5 separate regions of the Homo sapiens genome follow, and regions 1, 3, 4 and 5 are each linked to region 2. Evidence: promoter capture Hi-C in 16 types of primary human blood cells and fetal thymus (Javierre and others, 2016). All regions are on one chromosome and are shown on one strand. Each heading gives the region's core, a stretch centred on a gene start or on the middle of the fragment in contact. The rest is flanking DNA. Distances are from core to core; before and after follow the strand shown.

Evidence for each region. The method cuts DNA at HindIII sites, captures the fragments that hold promoters and counts their contacts. A CHiCAGO score of 5 or more calls a contact.
Region 1: a contact is called between a fragment that was not itself captured here and the fragment with the promoter of HSPA9 in region 2, in 1 of 17 cell types (endothelial precursors). The highest score is 6.2, in endothelial precursors.
Region 3: a contact is called between a fragment that was not itself captured here and the fragment with the promoter of HSPA9 in region 2, in 1 of 17 cell types (endothelial precursors). The highest score is 5.6, in endothelial precursors.
Region 4: a fragment that was not itself captured here is called in contact with the fragment with the promoter of HSPA9 in region 2 in 14 of 17 cell types (erythroblasts, naive CD8 T cells, naive CD4 T cells and 11 more); the score reaches 14.4 in erythroblasts.
Region 5: a fragment that was not itself captured here is called in contact with the fragment with the promoter of HSPA9 in region 2 in 1 of 17 cell types (endothelial precursors); the score reaches 6.5 in endothelial precursors.

The regions. Positions count from the first base shown.
Region 1 is chr5:139,137,199-139,143,097 of GRCh38, reverse strand. All of the region lies in intron 1 of SIL1 (SIL1 nucleotide exchange factor), which reads left to right. Among named protein-coding and RNA genes, the nearest start is that of SIL1, 58 kb to the left of the region's middle. The HindIII fragment of the contact is 621 bases long and covers 3,736-4,356 here.
Region 2 is chr5:138,572,051-138,577,870 of GRCh38, reverse strand. HSPA9 (heat shock protein family A (Hsp70) member 9) reads left to right here and starts at 2,470. Exons shown (of 17, transcript NM_004134.7): 1 at 2,470-2,633; 2 at 3,745-3,803; 3 at 4,021-4,108. The coding sequence starts at 2,553. All of the region lies in intron 1 of LOC105379193 (a long non-coding RNA gene), which reads right to left. RefSeq lists enhancers at 1,876-2,015, 1,593-2,241, 2,156-2,435, 2,676-2,725, 2,242-2,889. The HindIII fragment of the contact is 10,827 bases long and covers 1-5,820 here.
Region 3 is chr5:139,180,087-139,185,880 of GRCh38, reverse strand. All of the region lies in intron 1 of SIL1 (SIL1 nucleotide exchange factor), which reads left to right. Among named protein-coding and RNA genes, the nearest start is that of SIL1, 15 kb to the left of the region's middle. The HindIII fragment of the contact is 1,166 bases long and covers 1,843-3,008 here.
Region 4 is chr5:139,282,500-139,288,346 of GRCh38, reverse strand. It overlaps LOC124901081 (a long non-coding RNA gene), which reads left to right. Exons shown (of 4, transcript XR_007058956.1): 2 at 3,037-3,099. It overlaps SNHG4 (small nucleolar RNA host gene 4), which reads right to left. Exons shown (of 7, transcript NR_182757.1): 7 at 3,447-5,608. It also overlaps a transcript of MATR3 not described here. Among named protein-coding and RNA genes, the nearest start is that of SNORA74A, 6.6 kb to the right of the region's middle. The HindIII fragment of the contact is 606 bases long and covers 1,221-1,826 here.
Region 5 is chr5:139,210,026-139,215,841 of GRCh38, reverse strand. No RefSeq gene overlaps it. Among named protein-coding and RNA genes, the nearest start is that of SIL1, 15 kb to the right of the region's middle. The HindIII fragment of the contact is 3,764 bases long and covers 1,212-4,975 here.

The DNA.
Region 1 (5,899 bases), core at 2,797-5,296, 560 kb before region 2:
TTATGTTGAATAGAAGTGGTGAAAGTGGGTGGCCGGGCGCGGTGGCTCACGCTTGTAATCCCAGCACTTTGGAAGGCCAAGGTGGGCGGATCACGAGGTCAGGAGATTGAGACCATCCTGGCTAACACAGTGAAACCCTGTCTACTAAAAATACAAAAAAAATTAGCCAGGCGTGGTGGCGGGCACCTGTAGTCCCAGCTACTCAGGAGGCTGATGCAGGAGAATGGCGTGAACCCGGAAGGCAGAGCTTGCAGTGAACCGAGATCGCGCCACTGCACTCCAGCCTGGGCAACAGAGCGAGACTCTATCTCAAAAAAAAATAAATAAATAAGTAAAAGAGGTGGTGAAAGTGGGTATCTTTGTCGTGTTCTTGGTCTTTGGGGAAAAGCTTTCAGTCTTTCACCATTAAATATGATGCTAGCTGTGGGTTTTTCATATATGCCTTTTATTATGTTGAGGATGTTCTTTTCTATTCCGGGTTTATTGGGTATTTTTTATTATGAAAGGATATTGGATTTTGTCAGTTGCTTTTTCAGTATCCATTGAAATGATCATGTGGTTTTTTTCCTTCATTCTATTAATGTGGTGTATTACATTGATTGCATTTCATATGTTGAGCCACTCTTGTATTCCTGGGATAAAACACCACTTGATCATGTTGTATAATTCTCTTAATATGCTGCTGAATTTTGGCTTGCTAGTATTTTGTTCAGGATTTTTTGCATGTATATTATAAGAGATATTGGTCTGGAGTCTTCTTATAGTGTCTTTGTCTTGCTTTGGTTTCAGGGTAATGCTGACTTCATAGAATGAATTAGGAAGTGTTTCCCTTCTCTTTGGTTTTTGTGAAGAGTTTGAGAAGGATTAGTGTACTGCTACCCTTCTTAACAGGCACCTTGCTGGCCAGTAAGTGCCTGTTAAACTCCTACCTTTTTGGAGCTTTGGCTTTGAAGTTGGGCCAGGTGAACTTTTCCATACTTTTTTGTTTTGACACTTCCATCTTGGCCGCCTGTCTGGGCAGCCAGCCATTCTGATTATGCAGCCTGGAAACTGCCCTTACAGGGTCAAGTTGCTAAGTTGGACTTTAAGACTGCGGCTTTTTCCATGTGTTCTCTGTTTCCTTTGGCTGATGAGTGTATGGTCTGATCTTGGGTTTGCTGAACAAGAACAAGGCCTCTGAGCCATTCAGGAGATCAGAACAAGTCAGCTGATAAGGGAGTAGGTTCTGTGCTGAAAATAATGTATTTTAAAGTGTTTTCTCAGATATTTAACATTTCAGGGTGAAAGATTCCATTGAGCACAGTTTTCCATAATTCTAAGTTCACATGTGATCATAGAGGTGGCCACACACACTTCTTTCCAAAGTAGTAATTTACATATGTATGCCATTAGGTTCTGCTGCTTTCACTTCCACTCAACAATTTTTTATGCATCTGCTTTTAAAGATAGGGGTCTCGCTATTGCCCAACCTGGAGTGCAGTGGTGTGATCATAGCTCACTGCAGCCCTGAACTCCTGGGCTCAAGCCATCCTCCCACCTCAGCCTCCTGAGTAGTTGAGACCATAGTTGCATCACCATGCCCTGCTAATGAAAAAAAAATTTTTTTTTTTTTTTTGTAGAGACAGAGTCTTACTTTGCTGCCCAGGCTGATCTTGAACTCCTAGCTTCAAGTCATCCTCCTACCTAGGCCTCCCAAAGTGCTGGGATTACAGGTGTGAACCATTGTGCCTGGCCAGCACCTGTTTTTATGTATTACCACAGTCCATATTTTTACCTATTTTAATGGCAGTGTTATTTTCCATTGTACTCTTCCAAATGGTTCTTTTTAGATTATTGATTTTATTAAATCAATGGCTATTTTTTGAGTGCCAGGAAAAGTGCTGGGCAATGAGGAGACAGTGGTATGTTACACAGACAATTGTCCCTCCCGCTGTGGAGCTCCCAGTCAGATGGATTCTAGTTATAGGCCTATGAAATAGAGCTTCACTGACACCTAAAACAGCCCTGGAGAGGATGAGGAGTTTGTGCAGTCCCTAGCTCTGGTTCCTATTGCTGCCTTCTAAAATGCGGGGGGACGTCTTGGCAGGACAGTGTCAGTTCTGCTTGTAACTGTGCTCTCAGCAAAGCACAGGATGGAAACCCTGTGACCATGGCAGAGATGGCTCTGAAGTGGAGCTGCCGCAGCAGGGAGAACTGCTGTTTCCTAGGCAATACTCTGCTTAATATTTTTAGCATGTGGTCATGACAGAACTAAATGTGGTTTCTGATCCCAAATTGGTAATAAATGTAGCCATATTTAGAGTCAGAAACAATGCATTTAAAATCCTCTGCTCCTTAATTGTCCTGCCAAGTACTGAGTTTAGGTTTCTTTGTTTCTTGGCTACCTACCCAGCTTCCTACCATCCCTTGTAGAAGGTGCCCGGATTTTCTCTGGGCATTCGGTGGGATTGTGAAAGCCGTGAGTTATGGCTCCCTGAGCTGTGTTGAGAGGCATCTGATTTTTGTGTTTCTGCCCACATATGTAAATGTGTACATTTTAAAATTCATCTCCCTTTCAAGTTTTTAAGGATCTGGTATTATAAATAGTCTTGGGCTCTCAGGCATGTTAAAAATAAAATGTTGCAGTTGCTGACTTACCTGGAAGACATAGTTGATACCAACATGGTAGTAGCAAGTCCTGTGCTTGGTGACCCATCCTCGTATTGTTGCTAAGTGTTTCTGTAAGTAAATGCTATTTTCTTGGGGCTCCCCAATTAGTTTAAGGAGTACCCTAATTATTGCCTAGCTCATTATTACAAAGTTGTAATTAGTGTCTTTTTTTTTTTTTTGAGACAGAGTCTTGCTCTGTCGCCCAGGCTGGAGGGCAGTGGCTCGATCTCGGCTCACTGCAACCTCCGCCTCCCAGGCTCAAGCAATTCTCTTGCCTCAGGCTCCCGAGTAGCTGGGATTACAGGCACCCATCACCACACCTGGCTAATTTTTGTATTTTTAGTAGAGACGGGGTTTCACCGTGTTGGCCAGGCTAGTCTTGAACTTCTGCCTCAAGTGATCCACCTGCCTCGGCCTCCCAAAGTTCTGGGATTACAGGCATGAGCCACTGCACCCAGCCTCAACTAATTTTTGTATTTTTTAGTAGAGATGAGGTTTCACCATGTTGGCCAGGCTGGTCTTGAACTCCTGACCTCGGGTGATCCACCTGCCTCAGCCTCCCAAAGTTTTGGGATTACAGGTGTAAGCCACCATGCCCGGCCCCAACTAGTTTTTGTATTTTTTAGTAGAGATGAGGTTTCACCATGTTGGCCAGGCTGGTCTTGAACTCCTGACCTCATGTGATCCACCTGCCTCAGCCTCCCAAAATGCTAGGATTACAGGTGTGAGCCACTGCGCCTGTCCTTTTCTTTTTAATAATTATGCTGTCTGAGACTAAGATGTGGAAGGCCACATTATCCACTGAATGTGAACAGGACATCATCCACCTGAGGCAAGTGACAATATCTTTTGTATATTCTGTTCCATAGTATGGTGCCCAGTGTGCTCAAGGAACTGACATTAATGCTGAAATTATCTTTGTGTGGTATTTGCTTTTAGAGTGTGAGTGCTGAATGCTTGCAATAGAAATGGCAAACAAATTGTACTTACCAGTTAGCAGATAGTTCCTTTAGAACTATGGACTGGAAATCATACCTTCTTCCCTATTTTAGCCCCTTTAAGAGGCCCTGATGTTTTCTGGAAGCTTAGAGACATCAGGGGAAAGGAAAGATGAATTCTGATCTCTCCTCCCCTCGAACCCTGACCGTGGTATCTGGATGACTGTGGTGTGAAAGTCCCTGGTGTTCTTTGGGAGCAGGCTATAGAGAAAGCCCATCGCACATACTGTCAGGAGATCCAGTTACTATTTTAAAAGGGGAGGGAAGAAAAGCCCTGGGACCCTTAGTCCCTGGATGCTAGCTGCATCTGTCTACAGTGGTCCCAGCAGTCTAGGTCAGCTGCATTTGCCCCGGCTGTTCCTACTCTCCCTGACTCCCCCTTAGAGGTAGGAGAGTGGCAGCAGGAATTTGGAGACAGGCCTGAGTCATCAGGAAGCGGGACTCTGAAGTGTTTGATGTCAGTCAGCTGGCACTGATGCAGAGCCAGCCAGCATCGCTTAAAGGTTTCAATGGAAATGTGTCTGTAACCACCCAGAGTATAGTCCAGGTGTGTGGGCTGACTTGTGGCTCAGGGAAGCTAGTCTCCAAAGAGGGGCTTGGTTGTCAGAACAGAAGACAGTTCTGTATGGGGGTGAAGCCCTCGCTGCTTTTGCTTATCCTATTCTTTGCTCAGAATTTTCTCTAATAATAGTAGTGAGAGCTATAAGCTTTATGAGCCCTCATTTTGTGTCAGGCACTGTGCTATATGCTCTATGTCATCTCATTTAATATAGACAGTCATACTAAATAGTTACTATCAAGTCCTCTTATAGATGAAGGGGTTGAAACTTGTAGAGGTTAAGCATCTGGCCCAAAGTCACACAGCTAGTAGGGGAGACTTGGCTCAAAATCCAGAGCCTGCATTCTTCCTATTACACTGTAGTGGGTTGGAAGGGAATGGAGCTTCTTGTAACCTTGGTTGTTATCAGACATGGGCTGATCACTCCCGGTACCTCAGGCAGGGTCAAGGATCAGGTATAAGGAGTAGGTCCCCTTGTCTGTATCTTGCTAGGAGCTTACAGTCTAGGACCTACTGGAAAGTACAGACTAGGACCTGAGTATTCCTCTGATTCATCTGGTCAACTGCTGGTATGCTTAGGCAAGCCCCATTCACCAAAGAAGACTCCGTCTTTGTCTGCCATGTAGAAATACTTCTGTCTTGTGTATTTTCTGCATGGAGGGGCGAGGTGTCAAGTTCTTGCCAGACAGTTGGGTGTGTGTATATACGTGGTGTGTGTGGTTGTGGTTTGTGTGTGTGTGTGTGTGTATATGTGTGTGTGTGCCTGGCACTGGGCTCCATGAAGGGGAGCAGGGATGCTTTTGCTTCGTGTATAGCTAGGAAGCTTGAGTGATAGGAGTTTAAGGGATCAAGTCACAAAGGAAGCCTGGCTGCAATCTGAGTCAAGGGATTTCTTCTTCCTGAATGCCTGTGCCTATGCCTTGGCTGGTCTGTGCCAAGGGCATTTAGTAATCAAGGTGCCTGTGTGTGGTATGTGTGTGTGTGCGCGTGTGTGTGGTGTGTGTTTGTGTGTGGTGCAGAAACTAGAACATGGTAGAGGTGGGTCTTTCCACAAGAGGGCCCCAGTAGGCTCATTTAAAAATTTCTGTCCTTTCTACATATGGCTAGCCAGTTTTCCCAGCACCCATTCAGAGGTGGGAATTGAACAATGAGAACACATGGACACAGGAAGGGGAACATCACACACCGGGGACTGTTGTGGGGTTGGGGGAGGGGGGAGGGATAGCATTAGGAGATATACCTAATGCTAAATGACGAGTTAATGGGTGCAGCACACCAACATTGCACATGCATACATATGTAACAAACCTGCACATTGTGCACATGTACCCTAAAACTTAAAGTATAATAATAATAAAATTAAAAAAAAAATTTCTGTCCTGACACAAAATGTGCCTTTTTATTTATACTGTTGCAGAACAAATAAAATGATGAGTCCAGTTTCTGTGGCTGATTTCACAGACCCCTCGAGAGACAGCACGGCTATGGAAAGAGCATGGCTTTGGGGCCAAACTGGCTTTGAATTCTGACTCTACTGCTCTGTGGCTGCATGAACTCTGGCACGTTACTTAACCTCTCTGAATTTTGGTCCCCTCATGGGTAAAATGAGCAGCATATTGGAACCACCTCAGAGGGTTGTCGTGAAGAGTAAATGAACTAATACTTTGCTTGCAACATGGAAAGTTCTCTATAA
Region 2 (5,820 bases), core at 1,221-3,720:
GCCTCCCAAGTAGGTGGGACTACAGGTGCTTGCTACCATGCCCAGCCAATTTAAAAAAAAAAAAAAAAAAAATTGGCCGGCCGCAGTGGCTCACGCCTGTAATTCCAGCATTTGGGATGCCGAGGCGGGCGGATCCCTTGAGTTCAGGAGTTGGAGACCAGCCTGGGCAACAAGGCGAAACCCCGTCTCTACGAAAAATACAAAAATTAGCCAGGCGTAGTGCCGCATGTCTGTAATCCCAGCTACTCGGGGGAGGGGGGCGCTGAGGCGGCACTGGAATCATCTGAGCCCAGAGAGGTGGAGGCTGCAGTAAGCTGAGACTGCACCACTACACTGCAGCCTGGGCGACAGAGGCTAAAGATGGAGTCTCACTCTGTCGCTCAGGCTGATCTCGAACTCCTGGGTTCAAGTGATCCTCCCACCTCGGCCTCCCAAAGTGCTGGGATTACAGGCGTGAGCCACCGCCTGGCCACCCCTGCCTTCTGAGAGAACTAAAAACAAGAGAAATGAAGTGTTAAGTAACTAGTGAGGATAATATAGTAATAGCTGACAGTTAAGAGTGTGTGGGAGGCTTTTTAAAAACTTTTAGAATCTATATAATCTATAACCCATGTTACGTTAGACTTTTGTTTATTTTCTTACTCCCACTGCCATCCTCCTCAGAATGTAAACTCTTCAGTTAGCTTCTTTCCCTCCCCAACTTTCCCCAACATTTCCTTCACAGTTCCTCACCCAGGGGTGACTACTTAATAATACAGATCTTCCTGAAGAGATAGGGGGTCTGAAACATTTCTCTTTTTTTGAAAGCGGGCTTCCAGGACAAATTGCTTCATCTCCAAAATCAAGTTCAATCTGTCATCAGCCATTCGTTCGTGTTTTGCTTTCGCTGTATTCCTACCACCTGGGAGAGTGACTGACACACGGTAGGCATGCCAAAACATATCTGTTGAATCAATTAATTCCTCTTCTTAAAAATCTAAAACTGGGTTGGGCGCGGTGGCTCACGCCTGTAATCCCAGCACTTTGGGAGGCCGAGGCAGGCAGATCACGAGGTCAGGAGATCGAGACCATCCTGGCCAACATGGTGAAACCCGGTGTCTACCAAAAATATAAAAATTAGCTGGGCGTGGTGGCGCGCGCCTGTAATCCCATCTACTTGGGAGGCTGAGGCAGGAGAATAGCTTGAACCAGGGAGTCAGAGGTTGCAGTGAGCCGAGATGGCGCCACTGCACTCAAGCCTGGCGACAAAGACTGCCTCAAAAAAAAAAACAAAAACCTAAAAACTGGTCACAGGGTAGTGAAGTAGTTGACATCCTGCCACCAGCACAAGGTTTAAAAAGGGCCAGAGGAGTCTCAAGTCAGGCCCAGCACAGTGGGGAGAGGAAGAGCCTGAAGCTCAGCTATTTTTCTTTTTTTTCTTGAGACGGAGTCTCGCTCTGTCGCCCAGGCTGGAGTGCAGTGGCGCGATCTCGGCCCACTGCAAGCTCCGCCTCCCGGGTTCACGCCGTTCTCCTGCCTCAGCCTCCCGAGTAGCTGGGACTACAAGCGCCTGCCACCACGCCCGGCTACTTTTTCGTATTTTCAGTAGAGACGGGGTTTCACCGTGTTAGCCAGGATGGTCTCGATCTCCTAACCTCGCGATCCGCTCGCTTCGGCCTCCCAAAAGTGCTGGGATTACAGGCGTGAGCGCCCGGCCAAGCTCAGCTATTTTTTTTTCCCTTTGTGCAGGCTAATTGGCCTAATGTTCTGTGTGAATCAAACGCTTCGTAGTTGGAAACCCAAGACCCCTGTGATAAAACGCAACACGAAATTGTTTAACGTCTGTCTGCATATCCAAGTGTCTTTCAAGTTGTGAACAACGGGCGGGACCAAACAACAAAAGTACTGACGTCCTCACTTCACAAAGCCACAAGACAAGATGGCGCCGTCCTCCAGGAGCGGGAGCTGGGAACACGTCCACGCCCGGGGGGTGTGCACGCGCCCGGGCTCGCCCCAGGGAACGCTGGCGTGCACTCGGGCACCCAGTGAGCGCCGCAGTTAGTCTCCACCCATGTTTTCCGCCACTCCTTGCGCACATGCGCTCTAGGTTCTTAGCTGGATGTCTGTTGCGCCAACAGGCTCCTCCTCCCGCGCAACTGACGCAAGAAGACTGTAATCGGTTCGCAATTTATCCCGTGTGACCTTGAGTCTTTCCTGTCGCCGAGGACCGGGGCTGTCCGAGATACGGCCTTCATATCCCTCTTCCTCCCCTGGACTCTTTCTGAGCTCAGAGCCGCCGCAGCCGGGACAGGAGGGCAGGCTTTCTCCAACCATCATGCTGCGGAGCATATTACCTGTACGCCCTGGCTCCGGGAGCGGCAGTCGAGTATCCTCTGGTCAGGCGGCGCGGGCGGCGCCTCAGCGGAAGAGCGGGCCTCTGGGCCGCAGTGACCAACCCCCGCCCCTCACCCCACGTGGTTGGAGGTTTCCAGAAGCGCTGCCGCCACCGCATCGCGCAGCTCTTTGCCGTCGGAGCGCTTGTTTGCTGCCTCGTACTCCTCCATTTATCCGCCATGATAAGTGCCAGCCGAGCTGCAGCAGCCCGTCTCGTGGGCGCCGCAGCCTCCCGGGGCCCTACGGCCGCCCGCCACCAGGTGAGGAACTGGGACCTTCCCGAATGGGGTCACGGCCTCGGGCCTTGGGCCTCGGGCTTCGCTGCGGCAGGCCGCGCGCCCTTTAGGGTTTGAATTCTCCAGTATAGGTCAGGCGGGAAGGAAGGTAACGGGCCTTCCATAGTTAGCGCTGCCGGGTCAAGATTTTGCCCAAGGTTTTGCCTCCGGCTTGGGCCCTGCTGAGTCACACCCCTCGCGATCTAGAGTGTCATTTCAAAATTACCAGGTAGTGGTCCTCATGGCCTGTTCTGTGGCTGAATGGAAAGGTTTGGCCTTGGGGGTGAGGGATGCAGTCTATTGGGAAAGCCACTATTTTCAGTTTTATTTTTGGCTCCTCTACAGAATACAGAGTGTGTAAGGATCCCGTTGATACGGTGAAATAAAATAAGAAAGCTCTGAGTCGGAACTCCAGTTTTCGTGCTTAGCAACATTTTCTCAAAATCTGTGGTGTAAGATTGTACTCGTTTGTTACTTCAGAAAAAAAAGCAGATCGTGGGGCGGAGAAAAGGCTATGGAGTGGTTACTTGTTTTCTAAAATAAAAGACAAATGCTTTAGAGAACAGGAATTGTATGTGGGCATTAAGGAAGGCTTGGAAGGAGCCTGAGGTTAAGTTGTAATAAAGGTCTTTTATCCTAGTGAAACGCCACTACTTTTCTTTTTTCTTTCAAAGACCCTTAGTAACTCTAGTTCTTTTAAACTAATTGCACGGCAAGGTAAGGGGAAGTGTTTTCCCCCAGGGGACATCTGGCAATGTCTGTGGATATTTTAGGTTGTCACTTACTTACTGGGGTGCTTATTGGTTTCTAGGGTGTCGAGGCCAGGGATGCTGCTGTATATCCTACAATGCACAGAACAGCCCCCACCACAAAAATTTCGCCCAAAATTAATAGCGCCACGGTTGAGAAATCCTACTGTAATGTGATTCTAAGGCCATCTTTTATTTACCTTTTTTCGTCTTACTTATTTGGGAAACTTTAATATTTACTGTTTTAGTAGCTTAATGTATTTTATATACTAAGTGAGCCCAAGTTTTCTCTTTTTCCTCCCAGGATACACACTGGTTGGTGACTGAGTCAGTTTTTTCTTTTTTAGGATAGCTGGAATGGCCTTAGTCATGAGGCTTTTAGACTTGTTTCAAGGCGGGATTATGCGTAAGTATAATATCATTTCCTTTGAGAGGGAATACATATTAAACTTCAAAGCAGTGTTTTCTACATTTGTGATTATTCTTCTCTGTAATTATTTATCTGTATTTATTTAGAGATTATGTAGTATACCACTGTTAATTTTCCAATTAAATATTATCTTCCAGTGACTTTGGTCTATCAAGATAACAATAGCTGTGACACTGTTCTAAATGTCTTACAGATCAGAAGCAATCAAGGGAGCAGTTGTTGGTATTGATTTGGGTACTACCAACTCCTGCGTGGCAGTTATGGAAGGTAAACAAGCAAAGGTGAGCATGATTGATAACTAGTACCTTATCCAGAATCTGTCCAGAATTCTGTGCTCTTTTCCTTAGTTAAGGAATTTGAGAACCTGATTTGCGCTTTTTTTTTTTTTTTTTTTTTTTTTTTGGAGACAGTCTCTATAGCCCATGGTGGAGTGCAGTGGCACGGTCTCCGCTCACTGCAACCTCTGCCTCCTGGGTTCAAACAGTTCTCCTGCCTTGGCCACATAGCTGGGATTACAGGCATGAACCACCATTCCTGGCTAATTTTTTGTATTTTCAGTAGAGACAGTTCCACTGTGTTGGCCAGGCTGGTCTTGAGCTCAAGTGATCCGCCCACGTTGGCCTCCAAAGTGCTGGGATTACAGATGTGAACCACTAAGCCTGGCCTCGAAGTACTTCCAACTAAAACAGCAAAAACATAACTATAGATCAGGGCTGACCGGGCATAATGGCTCACGCCTGCAGTCCCAGCACTTTGGGAGGCCAAGGGGGGTGGATTACCTGAGGTCCCAAGTTCAAGACCAGCCCGGCCAAAATGGTGAAACCCCGTCTCTACTAAAAATGCAAAAAATTGGCCGGGTACAGTGGCTCACACCTGAAATCCTAGCACTTTGGGAGGCCAAGGCGGGTGGATCACAAGGTCAAGAGATCGAGACCATTCTGGCCAACATGGTGAAACCTGTCTCTACTAAAAATACAAAAATTAGCTGGGCGTAGTGGCACACACCTGTAGTCCCCGCTACTCGGGAGGCTGAGGCAGGAGAATCGCTTGAACCCAGGAGGTGGAGGTTGCAGTGAGCCAAGATCACATCACTGTACTCCAGCCTGGGTGACAGAGCGAGACTTTGTCTCAAAAAAAAAAAAAGAAGAGACTATAGATCAGGTTTTTCATACCCAATGTTGGGACAAGAATCTTTACTTCCACATGGAGAATTATATCTACTTCTAAGTTTTTTGGGGGGTTGGCCACAGATATCAGGCATATAGGAAAAATGCCAAGAAGCCCAAATTAGGGCCAAGAGAAGGAATAATCTCTTGGTGCCAAACAAGTGGGATAAGAAGACCATAGACAGTTCAGGTTATTTCAGAAGAGGAGATTGGGGGGAAAGGAAGTATGAAAGCAAAAGAGGCCATGAATGGAAGAAGCAAGAGTCAAGAATTCCAGGTGTTCTAAATCTTGCTAAGAACCCGGTGGGAATAAAGGTTGCATGTACAGAGTAAGGAGGCTTCAAAAGAAATAGCCTGCTCCAATGAACAACATGCATTACTTCAGAGATGAAGCTCCACTTCTAGTCTGTCTCTGCACACCCAACTTTGTTTCAATTTAGAAAATGCAGCACTTTGGTGGTTACCAGAGTAACCAAACAGTGCAAGCCATTCCCACCCCTCTTAATAGTAAATTAGTAGTCCTACCTCTATACCACATTTAAATCCTTTTCTGGGAAGTTAGATACATACAATTATCAGCACTACAAAGGTTCACCTGACAAGAGTCTTAAGCAACCAAAGCAGTTTTTAAAATGTAAATCAGGGCCAGGCCTGGTGGGTCATGCCTGTAATCCCAACACTTGGGGAGGCCACTTGAGTGTGGGAGTTGAAGATCACCCTAGGCAACATAGCAAAACACTGTCTCTACAAAAAATTAGCCGGGCATAGTGGTGTGCCCCTGTAGTCCCAGCTACTCTGGAGGCTAAGGTGGGAGGATCAGCTGAGGC
Region 3 (5,794 bases), core at 1,176-3,675, 610 kb before region 2:
TTGCAAGGTGATATCTTATCCTCTGGCTGTCTCATTTTTTTCATAGTCCCTAAGTGCCCCAGCAGTGCTTACTTGCCTGGCATCACCTTCTAGGTCTGAGAGTGTTGCCACAAATGATATCCCCATCTCCAGTAGAAATTAGCTGCCTGGGATATCTCGGGCAGACTACATGAGAAACTGAAAGCAGTGCAGTTTGTCTCTAGTGAGAGGCCCTGGGTAACTAGAGAATTGGGAAGGAGGGAGACTTACTTTTCACTATATGTCTTTGTGTGCCTTTTCAAATTTGAAACATATGCATATACAGTAAGTCCTCACTTGACATCGGTCATAAGTTCTTGGAAACTGTGACTTTAAGTGAAATGTATACAAAACCAATTTTACTATGGCTCATTGGTATAAACAAGAGTTAAGTTCCTACAGAATATTTCTTGTTACAGAAACATGACCAAACTTCTAAATAAAGACCAAAACACTTCTAATATTAAAAACTGAGATAAATGTGAGCTATACATTCCTTTAAGAAGGATTAACAAAAACAAGTGAGATAATTACTACCCTATTAGTTCAGGGTCTTGGGTGGCCAGAGCCCATCCCGGCAGCTCAGGGCACCAGGCAGGAACCAGCCTTGGACAGGATGCCATCCCATTTCAAGGTACACTCACACACCCTGACACTCATGCAGACTGGACCCCTTACACGCAACAGTGAACCTAACAGGCACGTCTTCGGGATGTGGAAGGTGACTGAGGACTTGGAGAAAACCCACACAGACATGGGGAGAATAAGCAGACTCCACACAAGCAGTGGCCCTGGCTGGGAAACAATTATTTTTTTCTCGTCGGTGTTATAAGGAAATAATGTTGATCGAAGCAATGTTATTTGGAGACCTGCTGTATTGTTATTTTTTAAATGTAGCTGAGCAGACCCATGTGTGGTCTTCTCTTCAAATTTTACTCTGTCCTCACTTTATTCCTGACATATGGATTTCTCTGTAAACAACTGGACCCAGTCGCTGTAGACTGCCTCTCAGATGTGACAGCTTGGCCTCTCTGCTCCCTAGAAATGTCCTAGGGTTTCTCATGCAGGGGTCTTTGGAATAACAATCAGGTGTAAAGTATGTGCAATATTTTACTGTTTTCAAATTTTACTGTTTTCAGTCTGATTCTTATGACATCCCCATTTATTTATTTTTTAGTTGTAGTTTTTTTAGAGACAACATCTCACTCACACCCAGGCTGGAGTAACAGTGGTGTGATCGTAGCTCACTGCAACCTCAAAATCTTGGGCTCAAGATATCCTCCCACCTCAGCCTCCTGAGCTGGGACTATAGGCATGTGCCACCATGCCTGGCTAATTTTTTAAAATTTTTTTGTAGAGATGGGGTTTTGCTATGTTTCCGAGGCTGGTCTTGAACTCCTGGCCTCAAGCGATCCTTCCACCTTGACCTCCCAAAGTGCTGGGATTATAAGAATGAGCCACTGTGCCTGGCCACACAACACCCCCATTTTATGGTGGTAAAATATTGAGGCTCGGAGAGTCTAAATGACCCATTTAGGGTCATACTGCTAGCCAGAGTAGGGCTGTGACTAATCCAGGTAGCTTTGTCTCCTATTAATGTACCTTGTTCTTAGTTCTTGTAGCAATGAGGCAGTCCTCTTTGGAATTCTTTACCATTTCCAGGACCATTGCAGTTAGGGCAGGAATGGAGTGGTGGTGATTCCTCTTTCCTCTTTTGGTTTGAACCCTCCTTTCAGGATGCTTAGTTACACAGGCCTGTCCTCTCTGGAAAAAGGGGATCAGTAGTAGGTTTCTCCACTTTTTGGAGAAACCTAAACTAAAGCTTCAATGGGGCAATACCTTTTAGGAGAGTTTGAACTGACAGTCTGGCTTCCTATTCTTTGCGGAGAGTTATTGCTGCTATTAGGCAGAGGGCTTTGTTTCCAGGTTACAAATCTTTTTAGCAAAGAAGTGAGTGTGGAATAGAATTGGAAGGACTTGTGTAGTCCTTGGATATAATTTAATGCTCCACATCCCAGAGAGAGTAAACATTGTAAAGTGTGCAAGATGGGTTTGGATTAATATCCTGACAGCATGTGGCTTGGCATGTAGGGCATTCCTTGGAGACCCTTCTTACCATACACAGCCTGCCTTTGCCGGGTGGCCTCTTCCCACAGGTCTTCCCAGCAGCTGTTGTGCACCTGGGTGAATCATCCGCTTCCCTGTGCTTTGAAAAAACCCATTTTAACTGATGAAAGCCCTCATACAGGAGGTGCAATAAACAGACAACCTTGAAAATGTTTTTTAGTACAACCTAAGCTGCCTCTGAGTTTGTCCAGGGTATTCACCTCCATTAGGAGCACTGGCTGATTCTCACCTCTGGTCTCTTCTGAATAGAATATGGAAAATCACCTTGCCCTTTCTACTCTGCTGCACCTGACATCATGGGTGTGGAAGGTCTCTGGAAACTCCGGGGAGGCAGGAGCACCATGGACATGGAGGGAAGGCTCATTTGCTTCTAAGGACCATGCAGAAATCCTTGGCTTTTTACTTCTGTTAGTCCTACTTAAATCAGAATTTAAAGCCTTCAAATAGAATTCTGTGTATGGCTGACATAGCATGGAGTAGGGAAGGCTTCTTTGTAATTTCTGAGGAGAACTTGGGGGCATGTAGAGGTCATGCTTAGGTTCTTTCCTTACCCAGACCTGACCTGTGCCGGGCCAGAGAGGTTTGCCCTAGAAAGCTGATGACTTAGGACCTTACTGGTGTGCAGCTTTGCAGGCCTGTAAACTTAGTTAGTTCATCCAGGTTTCAGTTCCTGGGGGCCTGCCTCAGGCATGTGAAATTCATAAGAGACCATCAAGTCACAGTTCCAGTTAACTAACTCCAATAAACATGACGACTAAGTTGATTTATGTGGACATGTAAGAGCATCTCTCCTCTGTAGGAGAGATTAGCTGGGAAGCCAGCTCCCCTCTGGAGGAAACCAAGGCAAATTATGGTGGCAAGCTTTTGGGTCATAGCATCAGATACACCCAGATTTAAACCATGTAACAGCTGTGAGACTTCAGAGGAGCTACTCAACCCCCCTGCTCCTGTGTCCTCAGCTGTGAAACCCCCTGGGTTTTTCAGATATATACATGGTAAGCACTCAATAAATGTTTTGTCTCACTTGTTTCTCACTCTTCCCTCTTCCCCTTTTCTCCTTCCCACTTTGTCCTTCTAGGGCTATATTGTAATCTGACCAGAATACACTTGTCAGTCTATTAAGGCACCAGGTACTGGAGATAGACTCATTTTTATTCTCTTGGCTCCCTTTATATATTCTTTGCCGTCCACGGCTCTTTTGTTACCACAGGTTACAATAGGAACAGTTAGATTCTAGCTCTTGTCAGTGGCTTCCAACCTAAGGGTTCTTTCTGGTTACCATTCAGTCCACCATTATTTGCTGAGTACCCATTGTGTGCCAGGACCTGCTTAGCCCTGGAAATACAGTGATGAATGAGACAGATGTGGTCCATGCCTTGAGTAACACCTCTTCAAACCCCCTCCTTAGATAGGTGACTTCTGTGGATGACTCGCCCTGCTCATTCCGTGTTGCGTCATATTAATTTCCTTCTGAGAGGGCAATCTTCTCCTTAGACCTAGGGAACAGTGCCTTTTTGTGCTGCGTGGACCTTGCCTGCTGGCTTGCCTGCTCCCAAGCAATGAGAGCAGCGTGTTGAGGCTGAAGGAGAAAGCCCCCCGGGCTACTACTGCCCTGGCCACACATGTCCCAAGAGGCTGCACTTGGCACTTCTGAATGTTCCTTTTCTCCTTGCACACAGATTATAGTGTTTACTGCTCGTTTAAATTCAAATAACCTTCCACCCCCTTCTCTGCCTTAAAAAAAACCAAAAAAACAAAAACTGTGTATTACAGTGTAGAAAACAAAACAGGCCAGCCCTGGTCCCCTGGCGAGGTTTGTTTTAACATCATTTTTTAGTGAAGCCTTGCTATGGGTTGCCTTTACTTTAATAGGGCTAATGTGTAATTCAGGCATATTGATAGTCTGCAGTTAAAGAATCTCACATCTTTTTTCTACCTTGATTGTCATCAACAGTGTGAAAGGTAGATGCAAGGGCTTTGGCTGACAGGAGGTGGGACTTCTCTGCTTTGGCCTCCAGACTCTATCCTGGACTCTGGCGGGTCCTATAAAGAAGGCTGAGCAGCCAGTTTAGTGATTTCTCAACTTCAAAATAGAAGCCTGGAGATAGTCCTACCCCTCCTCTCCCTTCTGCCAATTTTACCAGCAATTGCCAAGAACTGTGTGTGGGGAACCAGGCAGAATGACTCTCTGGAAATCATTTGTTTGAGAACTCCCAGTGGAGGAATGCATTTTCCTGTGCTTCTTCTCTTGTGATGGTGTGTGCTGTTGTGATTTGGTACTGCTTGTCCCTCTGCAGTACTGAGACTTGTATATAACTCCTCCAGCCCTGCGGGGGTTTTCAACAATAAATTGCTTGCTGGGTAGTATTTCCCCCAAATCCCTGGGAGAGCAGGGGAGCATGTTAACAATTAGGGACCTAGTTGAGCCTCTGTTTCTGGCACTGTGACTAGAGGCATGGTGGGTGAACCCAGATGAGCCATGTTTCCCACTGCTGCTCGGGCTGGGCATTTATTGCAGTTGGATGTAACATTAAGAGTCACACTAGAGGCTTGGTTGGAAAGGAGAGAGCACTGCATAATTATTGCTTATGTACTGTTTAAACCTATCAGCCAACAGATGTCAAGTGCAGAAAAAAAGCACAATAATGTTATTATAATGGCATAATAGTTATCATTATAATAATCAGCTGGCATAGGTTTTGATAAGAGGCAGATCCTGAAATGAGTGCAGGGGGAAGGGTTAACCTTGAACTACAGCACAATGAATGGCTGCTTAACCTTGCAGAAGATGCTGTGTAGAGGCAGGTGACTCAGGTATGGAGTTGCTACCCTCTCTGCCTAGCTAGAGGAGCTATGGAGACTTCAGCTGGGATTGTCTACCCTGCAGGTACTGTCTTTCTGATGGTGTGATGGAGCACACCATCCTTTGGTTTAAGGCATGCTACACTGCAGGAATACCATACTAGTGCCCAGAGCTGTGGGTTCTGGGAAATGCAGAGACTTCATCACTGTGGTCTCATTTTGGGTTTTCAGAAAATCCAGCCTCATGCCCATAGTTGCAGATGATGAATTTTGCTCCCTACAACAAACTGTGCTCCAAACCTAGGAAGTGGTGGTGCATCTCAGTTTTGTATGTATCAATTGTGGTGGGTTGTGCTCATGGAAGACAGACTTTTCTTTGCCAGAGAGCTTACCAGGAGCTACATTCCCAATTCTGGTTAGGAAGGTGGTGGTAAAGGGGTGAGGAGCAGAGTGGGGCTAATAGATGACCCACAAAGGCAGCATTGGGGTAGGAGAAAAAAGTCTGATTCAGGCAAAGCTGGGTATGATTTTTTTTTTTTTTTTTTTTTTTTTGAGATGGAGTTTTGCTCTTGTTGCCCAGGCTGGATTGCAATGGCGTGATCTCGGCTCACTGCAATCTTCACCTCCTGGTTTCATGTGATTCTCCTGCTTCAGCGTCCCAAGTAGCTGGGATTACAGGTGCACACCACTATGCCTGGCTAATTTTTTTGTGTTTTTAGTAGAGATGAGGTTTCCCCATGTTGGTCAGGCTGGTCTTGAACTCCTGGGTCTCGAACGCCTGGCCTCAAGTGATCCACCCACCTCGGTCTCCCAAAGTGCTGGGATTACAAGCATGAGCCACCGTGCC
Region 4 (5,847 bases), core at 274-2,773, 710 kb before region 2:
AAGTAATTATTTATTGAGGAACTTAGTGATGATGTGGGAGATTCAAAAGAAATATAACAGGTGCTTAGGGGCTTATCAGCAAAAAGACACAAAGGAAAAAAAGTTTGGTTTTTGTTTGTTGGTTTGTTTGTTTTTTGAGACAGGGTCTCGTGTTTCCCAGGCTGGAGTGCACTAGTGCCATCTTGGCTCACTGTAGCCTTGATTTCCTGGGCTCAAGTGTTCCTTCACCTCAGCCTCCGAGTACCTGGGACTACAGAAGCGCGCCGCCAAACCCAGCTAATTTTTTTTTGGTATTTTTTGTAGAGACGGGGTTTCATTATGTTGCCTAGGCTGGTGTCGAACTCCTGGGCTTATGTGATCTGGCTGCCTTGGCCTCCCAAAGTACTGGGATTAGAGGTGTGAGCCACCATGCCCGGCCACCAAAATTAATGCAAGATTTCATTCATCAAATGCCTATTTCATGAAGGACATTCTACAATGATGGAAAAGACAAACTTCCAGCCCTTAGGATCTTGGTTTGATGGAGATTGACAAGGAGTTTGACCTCAAAGTGGGCCTGTTTGTGAGCAGGCATGGGTAAAAAGCTGTATTCACATTTGGGTGTGGGAGTGGGTGTGCATCAGGAATGGTAAAGAATGGGGCCTTTCAAAGCAAGAATTGCTGGTGAGACTTTGAAAGGTCTAAGTGACAAGTTTGGTACAGCTTAATGATGAAACTTTTTTTTTTTTAGAGACGGAGTTTTGCTCGTTGCCCAGGCTAGTGTGCAATGGCGCAATCTTGGCTCACGGCAACCTCCGCCCACCGGGTTCAGGCGATTCTCCTGCCTCAGCCTTCTGAGTAGCTGGGATTACAGGTGCGCGCCAACATGTCCAGCTAATTTTTGTACTTTTAGTAGAGATGGGGTTTCGCCACATTGGCCAGGCTGGTCTCGAACTCCTGACCTCAGGTGATCCACCCGCCTTGGCCTCCCAAAGTGGTAGGATTACAGGCGTGAGCCTCCTCTCCCAGCCCTGTAATGAAACTTTCAATGCCAGAATAGAGTATGGATTTGAGATTATAATGAGGACCTTTTCCAATTTTGAGTAGAGGAAAAAGCAAGAAAAGATTGGGGACATATACTTTGACACCACAAAATCCATTAAAATATATTATGTGAATATGAGGAGTCCTGTCATCAATGACATTTTTCTTGAAATTTCTTTTGATGAGAAAATTAAGCTTGACAAAGGTAAAAGTCCTAAAAGACGACAAAATGGAATTATGGAATTCACACCTTTGAGGTCAACCATTTGATATTCAGCAGCCAACTAATATTTGAGAGACTATTTATTACTATTGTATACTAGGCACTTGCCAGTACATAATAGTAAACAAAATAAAACAAAATAAAAGGTCTCTGCTCTCATGGAGCTCAGGAGTCTAGCAGAATAGACCACTATTTACATGCTCTACTAAGCAGTTGATAACACATTTTAATTACCATTATTCCTTTTTTTTTTTTTTGAGACGGAGTCTGGCTCTCTTGCCCGGGCTGGAGTATAGTGGCATGATCTTGGCTCACTGCAACCTCCGCCTCCCAGGTTCAAGCAATTCTCCTGCCTCAGCCTCCCAAGTAACTGGGATTACAGGCCCGTGCCACCAGCTTGGCTAATTTTTGTATTTTTAGTAAAGATGGGATTTCACCAAGTTGGCTAGGCTGGTCTTGTACTCCTGACCTCAAGCGATTTGCCCGCCTCAGCCTCCCAAAGTGCTGGGATTACAGGTGTGAGCCACTGTGCCTGGCCAACGTACCATTATTCCTATTTCACATAAGATATCAAGAAGCTTGTCCACAGAGGAGGTCTACAGAAATAAATAATAAAATTAAAAAGTCCAGGCACAGTGGCTCACACCTGTAATCATAGCACTTTGGGAGGCCGAGGTGGGAGGATTACTTGAGGGCAGTTCGAGACCAGCCTGATCAACACAGTGAGACCCCATTTCTATTTTATAATAAATAAATAGCTTTTAAAAAGAAGATTGCCTATGATCTTGCAGCTAGAGACAAATGCAGAGCCTTTGAATGTTATGCTGTCTGCAGCAGAGTTGACACCTCAGAAATCTACTGGGACAGTTTTAATGCCCTGGAACCAGGTCATTTTTTAAGGCTACTTAAAAACAGAAAACTTAACCAGTAGCTGCTCTTCTAGCAGTGGCAAGAGGATGGGGTCAGGTCTTACAAAGGAGTTTTTGAAAAGGTTATATATGAATTTCAAAACTCTGTCTTTTGAGAGTTTAATTATAATGTGTCCTGGTCAAGATATCTTTAATATATTTGGGGTTCTTGGATCTGGATATTCATTTGTCTCTCTAGATTGGGGAAGTTTCCTTTAAGTAAACTTTCTGCCCTTTATTCTGCTCTTTCTGAAATACCCAAAGTGCGTATATGGGTTCACCTGATGGTGTCCCATAGGCTTCACTTTTTCATTTTTTTTTCCTCTGACTAATTTCAAGTGATCTGTCTCAAGTTCATTGATTCTTTTTTTGAGTCTGTTGTTGAAACGTCTGTGGAATTTTCCAATTTAGTCATTGTGTTCTCTAGCTCCAGAATTTGGTTCTTTTTAATGATTTCTGTTTGTTGAACTTCATATTGTTCATGTCTTGTTTTCCTGATCTCATTTAATTCTTTTTTTTGAGACGGAGTTTCACTCTTATTGACCAGGCTGGAGTGCAATGGTGCAATCTTGGCTCATTGCAACCTCCACCTCCCAGGTTCAAATAATTCTCCTGCCTCAGCCTCCCAAGTAACTGGGAGTAGAGGCCTGTGCCACCAGTAGAGCGAGATTCTGTCTCAAATAAAAATTTTAAAAATGTCTTGAAATTCTTATTCTGGCCCACAGTTTCTTCAAGACACAACAGGGCAAGCATTGAGGAATTTTAATAAAAAGTGATAAATCATATCATGGGGCAAGACTAGGGATTAGAATGTGGCATTCATTAAGGCTTTCCAGAGGAATATTTTTTAAAAATCTAAAAGACTATGTTTTGTTCTGTTAGGACAAACAGAACCCACTGCACACTACAGCAAGAGTAGCCAAGATGTTGACCATCTGAAACAAGGTATTTGGCATTTGAAATAGTTGTAAGAATCTGTAAGTAAGACATTTGAGTAGTTCCTTCAAGATGTTAGATTGAACGAGGTTGATGATTGAAGAAGCAGAAATTTACAAGACTTGAGGGCACTATACATGAAAGCTCCTAAACCAAACAGTACTTTTGGAGCCAGATTCATTCAGCACCACACAAGTTCTCGTGTGACTGTGACTTTGGGCAAGTAACATGTACCTTGTAGGGCTGTTGAAAAAAGAGATGTGTTAAATGTATTTAACATGGTCAACATGTAGTAAATAGTGTTGATATTCTATGGCGCCACATGTCCCAAAGTATACCCTAATGACAAAAAATCATAGATTCAAAGATTTTATTTTTTATAGAACCCCAGAATAATAACATATTATAATTATACACTTCAATCTGGTTATAAGTTATATCCTCGCAGCTACTTACCAATATGCCTGCTTGTAAGAGAGGTTCTTCAAGTTATAATTTACACAAAGATGTCTCACAAATTTTCTCAAATATAAAGATATTTACAGATTACTGAAATAAGTAACAAAAGCCTACACATGTGTTTTAGTTAACAGATGTCTGAAATCTAAATAGCAAGTCTCTGCAAATCCATTATTTTCTTTTTTTTTTTTTGAGACTGTCTCAGTCTGTCACCCAGGCTGGAGTGCAGTGGCACGATCTCAGCTCACTGCAACCTCTGCCTTCCAAGTTCAAGCGATTCTCGTGCCTCAGCCACCCAAATAGTTGGGATTACAGGCATACACCACAACACCCAGCTAATTTTTGTATTTTTTTCTTTTGTAGAGACGGGGTTTCACCATGTTGGCCATGCTGGTCCTGTCCTGGCCTCAAGTGATCCACCCACCTCAGCCTCTCAGTGTTGGGATTATAGGCAACCGCGCCCGGCCAAATCCATTATCATCACTTAATGTTTAAAGGCTACGTTCAGTTTCCTATAGGTGATATTGTTAGGATCTACTAGCAAATGATTTGGTAACCTGACATCTTTGTATTCATGTCCAAAAAAATTCTTTTATAAGAACAAAAATGGTACTCTTAGCCTCATTCACTGGAGTATTACTGAAAAGCATGATATTCTTACTCTATTTTGGGTACATTATGACAGAGAGGTTATTATTACCAACTGTCAGTAGAACTGAGGCTTCTTGAGTAAAGGGGATTGAGGTAAACCTTTGGAAGCTGGTGAATACATTTCAAGACACAACATGGCACCTGTGTCTAGCTCTATGGTACAACATGGTACTATGACACATATAATGGGTTGCCAGATGGGGAAGGCAGCTTCTCTGCAACTGAGCTGAGATCTCAAAATAGACAATGTCAAGATGGAATGAGAAGGGAAAAACAGCATGTGTAGACAGGTAGTGACAAAAGGCTAATTAAGGACTGAAAGAAACCAGTGGCCAACAAGGGAATCTACGGGTGATAAAGATAAGACGGTGAGAGAGATAAGGCTAGATTGTATAAGGCTTGACAGACCATAGCAAGATAAGCAAGAACTGTGTCCTGTTAACCATTTATCCCTAACATCTAGCATAGAGTTCAGTTAGTAAAAGCCATAAACCCTTTGAGTCTTCTGGCAAGATAAGTAATTAGCACAGATTATTGTCACTCACTGCAACTCAGCCTTGGAGGGAGTACACAAATCAGAAGGAGGTCAAGTGTCTGGGAAATTAAATGACGGCACCTGGAAGAACAGATCATTGTTGGGGTAAGAAATGGAAGCCCAGTGTAGAAAAGGATAGAATGCCATGGGGTTAGAGGTAGCAGAGGCTGGGACAGAACTTGTCTGTTCTGCCCCCTTTCACCCCTCCTGTTCTTTGCCTTATGTCCAACCCATCACTTGCTGGGGTAGTCAGCCTAGTTGAACAGGTTTAGACAACCCTAGAGTTCTCTCCAGGAGAATTAATACTGAGAAGGAGAAGTTCTACCATTGTCACTCTGGTGAAGCACAGATTCTAACTCAGAGGCTCTTTGCCTTGAGGGGCATCTTCCCTCTCCTTCAACTCATCAGAACCCTTAGTTCTGGGCTTGGCTTCTCCCTTTTAGCAGCTGATAACAAAATCCCCATCCTCTACTATAAGCTTACGGGCTGAAAGTCAGCCATGTAAGGACTACAGCATCCACTCTCAAAAGACAACAGGCTCAACCACTATTCTCTACATGACAGAATAAAGTAAGACCACAGAATAAAAATGGAATGTTTTGAGAATTTAGGAGGCAGCCGGGCACGGTGGCTCATGCCTGTAATCCCAGCTACTGGGGAGGCTGAGGCAGGAGAATCACTTGAACCCGGGAGGCAGAGGTTGCAGTGAGCTGAGATTGAGCCATTACATTGCACTCCAGCCTGGATGACAGAGACTCCGTCTCAAAAACAAACAAACAAAAAAACAAAACTGTCAAGGTCATTAAAAACAAGTCTAAGAAGCTGTCATGGCCAACAGGAGCCTAAGTGTAATGTGGTATCTTCAACGGGATCCTAGAACAGACAAAAGACATTACATAAAAACTAATGAAATCTGAACAAAGTATGGACTTTAGTTAATACTAATGTATCAATATTAGCCCATTTAATTGTGACAACCATAATATACCAATGTAAGATGTTATTAGGGGAAACTGGGTATGGTATATATGGGAACTCTTTGTACCATCTTCCCAACTTTTCTATAAATCTAAAAGTATTGTAAAATAAAATAAATTTTAAAGTCCTTTTTA
Region 5 (5,816 bases), core at 1,844-4,343, 640 kb before region 2:
GGCTGAGTCACCATGCCCGGCCAGGATTAATCTTAACAAAATAGTAATAACGACATAAGCATAGTCTGTAACACCGGATGACCTTATAACCAAGCACTTTCAGGAAATTTTAGTGCCTTTTTTTTTTTGCACTTGTATTATGTATTGATTGGGTTGGTGCCAAGTGATTTTCTGAAATGACAGCATTTAACTTTTAATGCTGCAACTATTTTCATCTCATTATTTACAGATATATCTGCAGCACCTAGAACAACAGTGCACATCGTAAGTGTTCAATAAAGACATGTTGAATAAATGAATGAATGAAGTTTCTCAAGCTAGGTTCTGACATCCTTGGGGCTCTTCCACAGTTTGAAATCGCCTCAGTATGGCACGTGAGGCTCTTCACAATTAAGCTGGGAATACTCAACCAGTAATTTTCCCAGACAGTCTGGGCAGGATGCGGGGGCGTAGTCCTCTTTAGAAAATAAAAAAAGTGAAAGTATAAAGCATTTATGTACATTTTGACAGGGCAGACGTGATATGCAAATGGATTGCAAATATAATGCAAATGACATGCAACTCCTCATGCAAATGAGCATCCTGTCTTTGGAATCGACTGCCGGGTATTCACTGATTTGTCTGCAGTACTGGCAGTAAATCTTTCAAGGGTTTGGGATGCAAGTTGCTTTGATGGTGATGTGTGTGTACTAGGGAGGAGGGGTAGTGGGATGGGGTCTCTCAAGGAGGAGTCGGTGTGGTGCTAACGCTTGCAGCTTAGTATGAAGCTTAATACAGTATACAGTTTAATATGAGGTTATTCTCCTGTGATGCTCTAAGGACTGACATTTCGGAATTGGTGGCGGGTGGTGGCAATGAAATGCAACTTCTTATATTCTTCAACTCTTTGGTTGCCTCACATCTTCTGTCCCATCCATCTCACATCATTGGGGTTCTGGTCCACAGGAGTAGAGAGTAGGGAGTCAGAGATCCCTAGCCCCAGGCCCTCATCATGAGGACTACAGAAGAGCTCTTGTAAATCATTTCTGGAGGAGGTTATGAGCATGGTGTGGAGTTCTGCACTTCCTAATCACATGACAAGCAGAATTTAGCTGAATTTCTAGGCCTGTTAGAAAAAGATGAGTGGTGACAAAAAGCATGGAGACTTTCTGAGAAATATAGCTGCTTAATCTCAATGCCAATAATGTGATATCTGACAAAATTGGGAAGCTTACTTGGAAATCTAAAGGGAAAAAATGTCAACTATGATTTTTTTCTTGATAAAAACCTGTTCTTCCTTGTCCTTGGTGTGAAAGGAAATTTGTGGTTACACAGACTCTTCCCCAATGATTATAAAAATATTGGGCAAATGATGCAAAAGACGCTTTAGCAGGTATATTTTAGCCTAACTCAAGATCTGTTTTTCTCTGACACTTTGCATCAGACCTGGGTTCAAACACTCAATTTTCAGCTATATAAACTTGGACAACTTATTCAACTTTTCTGAGCTCAGTTTCTGCATCTGTAGGGGAGTAATAGAATAATAGAATCCTTATGAGGCTGTCGTAAAGGTCACATGAGATAATGCATGTACTTAACACAGTGCCGGGCTCATAGTGAGCATTCAATTAATATGGCAATTTGCAATGACCATCTGTAGATTTGCTGCCTAGATTCCATTCATCCTCCATCTGATAACTGTACCCCATTTCTTCCTGGTGAACCATCATTTTCTTTTCATTCCATGTGGTCCTAATGAAACTGACTCCATCCTCAGCATCAGGAGTAGAACATGTGGCGTAAGCTGGGTGCAGTAGCTCACACCTGTAATTCTAGCACTTTGGGAAGCTGGGCCAGGTGGATCACTTGAGGCCAGAAGTTTGAGACTAGCCTGGCCAACATGGCAAAACCCTGTCTCTACTAAATATACAAAAATTAGCTGGGTGTGGTGGTACATGCCTGTAATCCTAGCTACTCAGGTGGCTGAGGCATGAGAATCACTTGAACCTGGGAGGAAGAGGTTGCAGTGAGCCAAGATTGTGCCACTGCACTCCAGCCTGAGCAACAAAGTGAGACCCTGTCTTTAAAAAACAAACAAACAAGGCCGGGCGCGGTGGCTCACGCCTGTAATTCCAGCACGTTGGGAGGCCGAGGCGGGTGGATCACGAGGTCAGGAGATGGAGACCATTCTGGCTAACACGATGAAACCCCGTCTCTACTAAAAATACAAAAAATTAGCCGGGCGCGGTGGCGGGCGCCTGTAGTCCCAGCTACTCGGGAGGCTGAAGCAGGAGAATGGCGTGAACCCGGGAGGCGGAGCTTGCAGTGAGCAGAGATCGCGCCACTGCACTCCAGCCTGGGCGACAGAGCGAGACTCCGGCTCAAAAAAACAAACAAACAAACAAACAAAAAAGAACCTGTGACTTAGGTTTAAATCATTCATACCATTCTATTCTTAGGCCACAGTGATTGGTTCAAGAATGGGGACATACACAGAGTTACCGTACAATCCAGCAATTCCACTTCTAGGTAACCTTGTATGATCAACACTCAGTGTATGCAAAGGATTAGTTCCAGACGCCCAAGTACACCAAAATCCATGCAAACTCAAGTCCTGCAGTTGGCTCTGCAGAGCCTGAGTATACAAAAAGTCAGCCCTCCATATACTCAGGTTTCACATCCTGCGAATACTGTATTTTCAATTTGCATTTGGTAAAAAAAATCTGCATATAAGTGGATCCTTGCAATTCAAACTTGTGTTGTTCAAGGGTCAAGTGTATATGAATGCTCATAGCAGCATTATTCATAATAGTCAAAAAGTGGAAGCAACCCAACTATCTACCACTTGGCATCAGAATGCTGCTATGAACATTCATGTACAACTTTTTTATATTCATACAATGGGCTATTATTCAGCAATAAAAAGGAATAAAGTACTGATTCATGTTACAACATGGATGAACCTTATAAACATTATGCTAAGCGAAAGAGGACAGACACAAAAGGCCATATATTATTTGATTCAATTTATATGAAATATCTAGAATAGGCAAACCTGTGGAGACAGAAAGATTAGTGGTAGCCAGGCACTGGAAGGAGGGGGAATGGGTAGTGGCTGTTACTGAGTATAGGGTTTCTTTTTTTTTTGAGACAGGGTTTGGCTCTGTCGCCCAGGGTGGAGTGCAGTGGCTAACTGCCATTTCTGCCTCCCAGGCTCAAGCACTCCTCCCACTTCAGCCTCTGGAGTAGCTGGGACCATAGGCACTCGCCACCATGTCCAGCTAATTTTTGTATTTTTTATAGGGAAGGGGTTTCTTATGTTGTTCAGGCTGGTCTCAAACTCCTGGGCTCAAGTTGTCTGCCTGCCTTGGCCTCCCAAAATGCTGGGATTACAGGTGTAAGCCACTGTACTTGGCCTAGAGTTTCTCTTTAGGGTGATAGAAATGTTTTGGAATTAGATAGTGGTGATAATCATACAACATTGTGAATATATTAAAAACTACTGAATTGCATACTTTAAAAAGATGAATTTTATGGAATGTGAATTATATCTCAATTTAAAAAACTAAACCAGATAAAATAAAACAGTGGACATATGTCTCAAGTAGACTAATGACAGCCAGTAAGACCCACTCTAATTCTTTGGAGTCATGAGGGAAGCAAACTAGTTCCTTTCTTTCAGGACTCCAACTTGAGAGAATATAGGGTCTGGAGCTGCTGTCCTGTCTTGCTATGTGTAGATCCGGAGACTGAATTATCCAACTCAGCTGAAAGCAGAGCCAAGAAATGGAGACACCAAGACCTGTTTACACATTGGAGCTACAGTAATTAATTGTCCCAGTTTGCCTGGGACTTTCCTGGTTTTAGAACTGAAAGTCTGTATATCACGTTAAGCTGGAGCTCCGAATCCACCTCTGCTTGAAGGTCAACATGTTACCCGTGGACTTTTCAATTACAGTCATGCACCATGTAATGATGTTTTGGTCAATAACGGATCACATATGCGATGGTCATTCCATAAGATTATACTACAATAGTTTCACTGTACCTTTTCTATGTGTAGATATTTTTAATTTTAATTTTTTTTTTTTTGAGACACAGTCTCACTCTGCCACCCAGGCTGGAGTGCAGTGGCGCAATCTCGGCTCACTGCAACATCTCCCTCCCCGGTTCAAGCGATTCTTGTGCCTCAGCCTCCTGAGTAGCTGCAATTACAGGTGTGTGCCACCATGCCTGGCTAATTTTTTTATTTTTGGTTTTTTTTTTTTGAGATGGAGTCTCGCTCTGTCACCCAGACTGGAGTGAAGTGGCGTAATCTCGGCTCACTGCAACCTCCGCCTCCCGGGCTCAGGTGATTTTCCTGTCTCAGCCTCCGAGTAACTGGGATTACAGGCAGGCGCCACCACACCTGGCTAATTTTGTATTTTTAGTAGAGACAGGGTTTCACCATGTTGGCCAGGCTGGTCTTGAGTTCCTGACCTCAGGTGATCCGCCCGCCTTGGTCTCCCAAAGTGCTGGGATTACAGGTGTGAGCCACCGAGCCCGGTCCTCTGTTTAGATATGTTTAGATACGCAAATACTTACCATTGTGTTACAATTGCCTACAGTAATCAGTATAGTAACACGCTGTACAGATTTGTAGCCTAGGAGCATAGACTAGACTGTATAGCCTAGGTGTGTAGTAGGCTATACCAGTGGTCCCCAGCCTTTTTGGCTCCATGGATGGTTTCATGGAAGACAATTTTTCCACGGATGTGGGGAGTAGGGTGGCAGTATGGGGGGTAGCAATGGTTTCAGGGTGAAACCGTTCCCCCTCAGATCATCAGGCATTAGTCAGATGCTTATAAAGAGCACACAACCTACATCCCTCACATGCACAGTTCACAATATGGTTCGTGCTCCTGTGAGAATCTAATGCTGCAGCTGATCTGACAAGAGGCGGAGCTCAGGCAGTAATGTGAGCAATTGGGGAGGGGCTGTAAATACAGAAGAAGCTTTGCTTGCTCACCTGCTGCTTACCTCCTGCTGTGAGGCCCGGTTTCTCACAGGCCATGGACTGGTACCAGTCCATGGTTGAGGACCCCTGGGCTATACCATCTAGATTTGTGTGAATACACTTTATGATGTTTGCACAAGGACAAAATTGCGTAAAGACATTTCTCAGAACATATCCCAGTCATTAAGCCATGGATAACTGTGCATGAGTCAATAAATTCTCTTTTTGGCCAGGTGAGGTGGCTCACACCTATAATCCCAGCATTTTTGGAGGCCAAGGCAGGCAGATCACTTGAGGTCAGGAACTTGAGACCAGCTTAGCCAACATGGCAAAACCCCGTCTCTTCTCACTAAAAATACAAAATTAGCTGGGCATGGTGGCGCACACCTGTAATGCCAGCTACTCAGGGGGCTGAGGCAGGAGAATCGCTTGATCCCAGGAGGCAGAGGCTGCAGTAAGCTGAGATCCTGCCACTGCGCTCCAGCCTGGGTGACAGAGCAAGATTGTTTCAATAAAAAAAAAGGCTGGGCTCACGCCTGTAATTCCAGCACTTTGGGACGCCAAGGTGGGCGGATCATGAGTTTGAGACCAGCCTGACCAACATGGTGAAACCCTGTCTGTACTAAAAATACAAAAATAATTAGCTCGGCATGGTGGTGCATGCCTGTAATCCCAGCAACTTGGGAGGCTAAGGCAGGAGAATCGCTTGAACCCGGGAGGCGGAGGTTGCAGTGAGTTGAGATCGCGCCACTACACTCCAGCCTCACAACAGAGCGAGACTCCGTTTCAAAAAAAAAAAAAATTCTCTTTTTGTTTTTGCCAGCATCACAGGTTGGGTTCT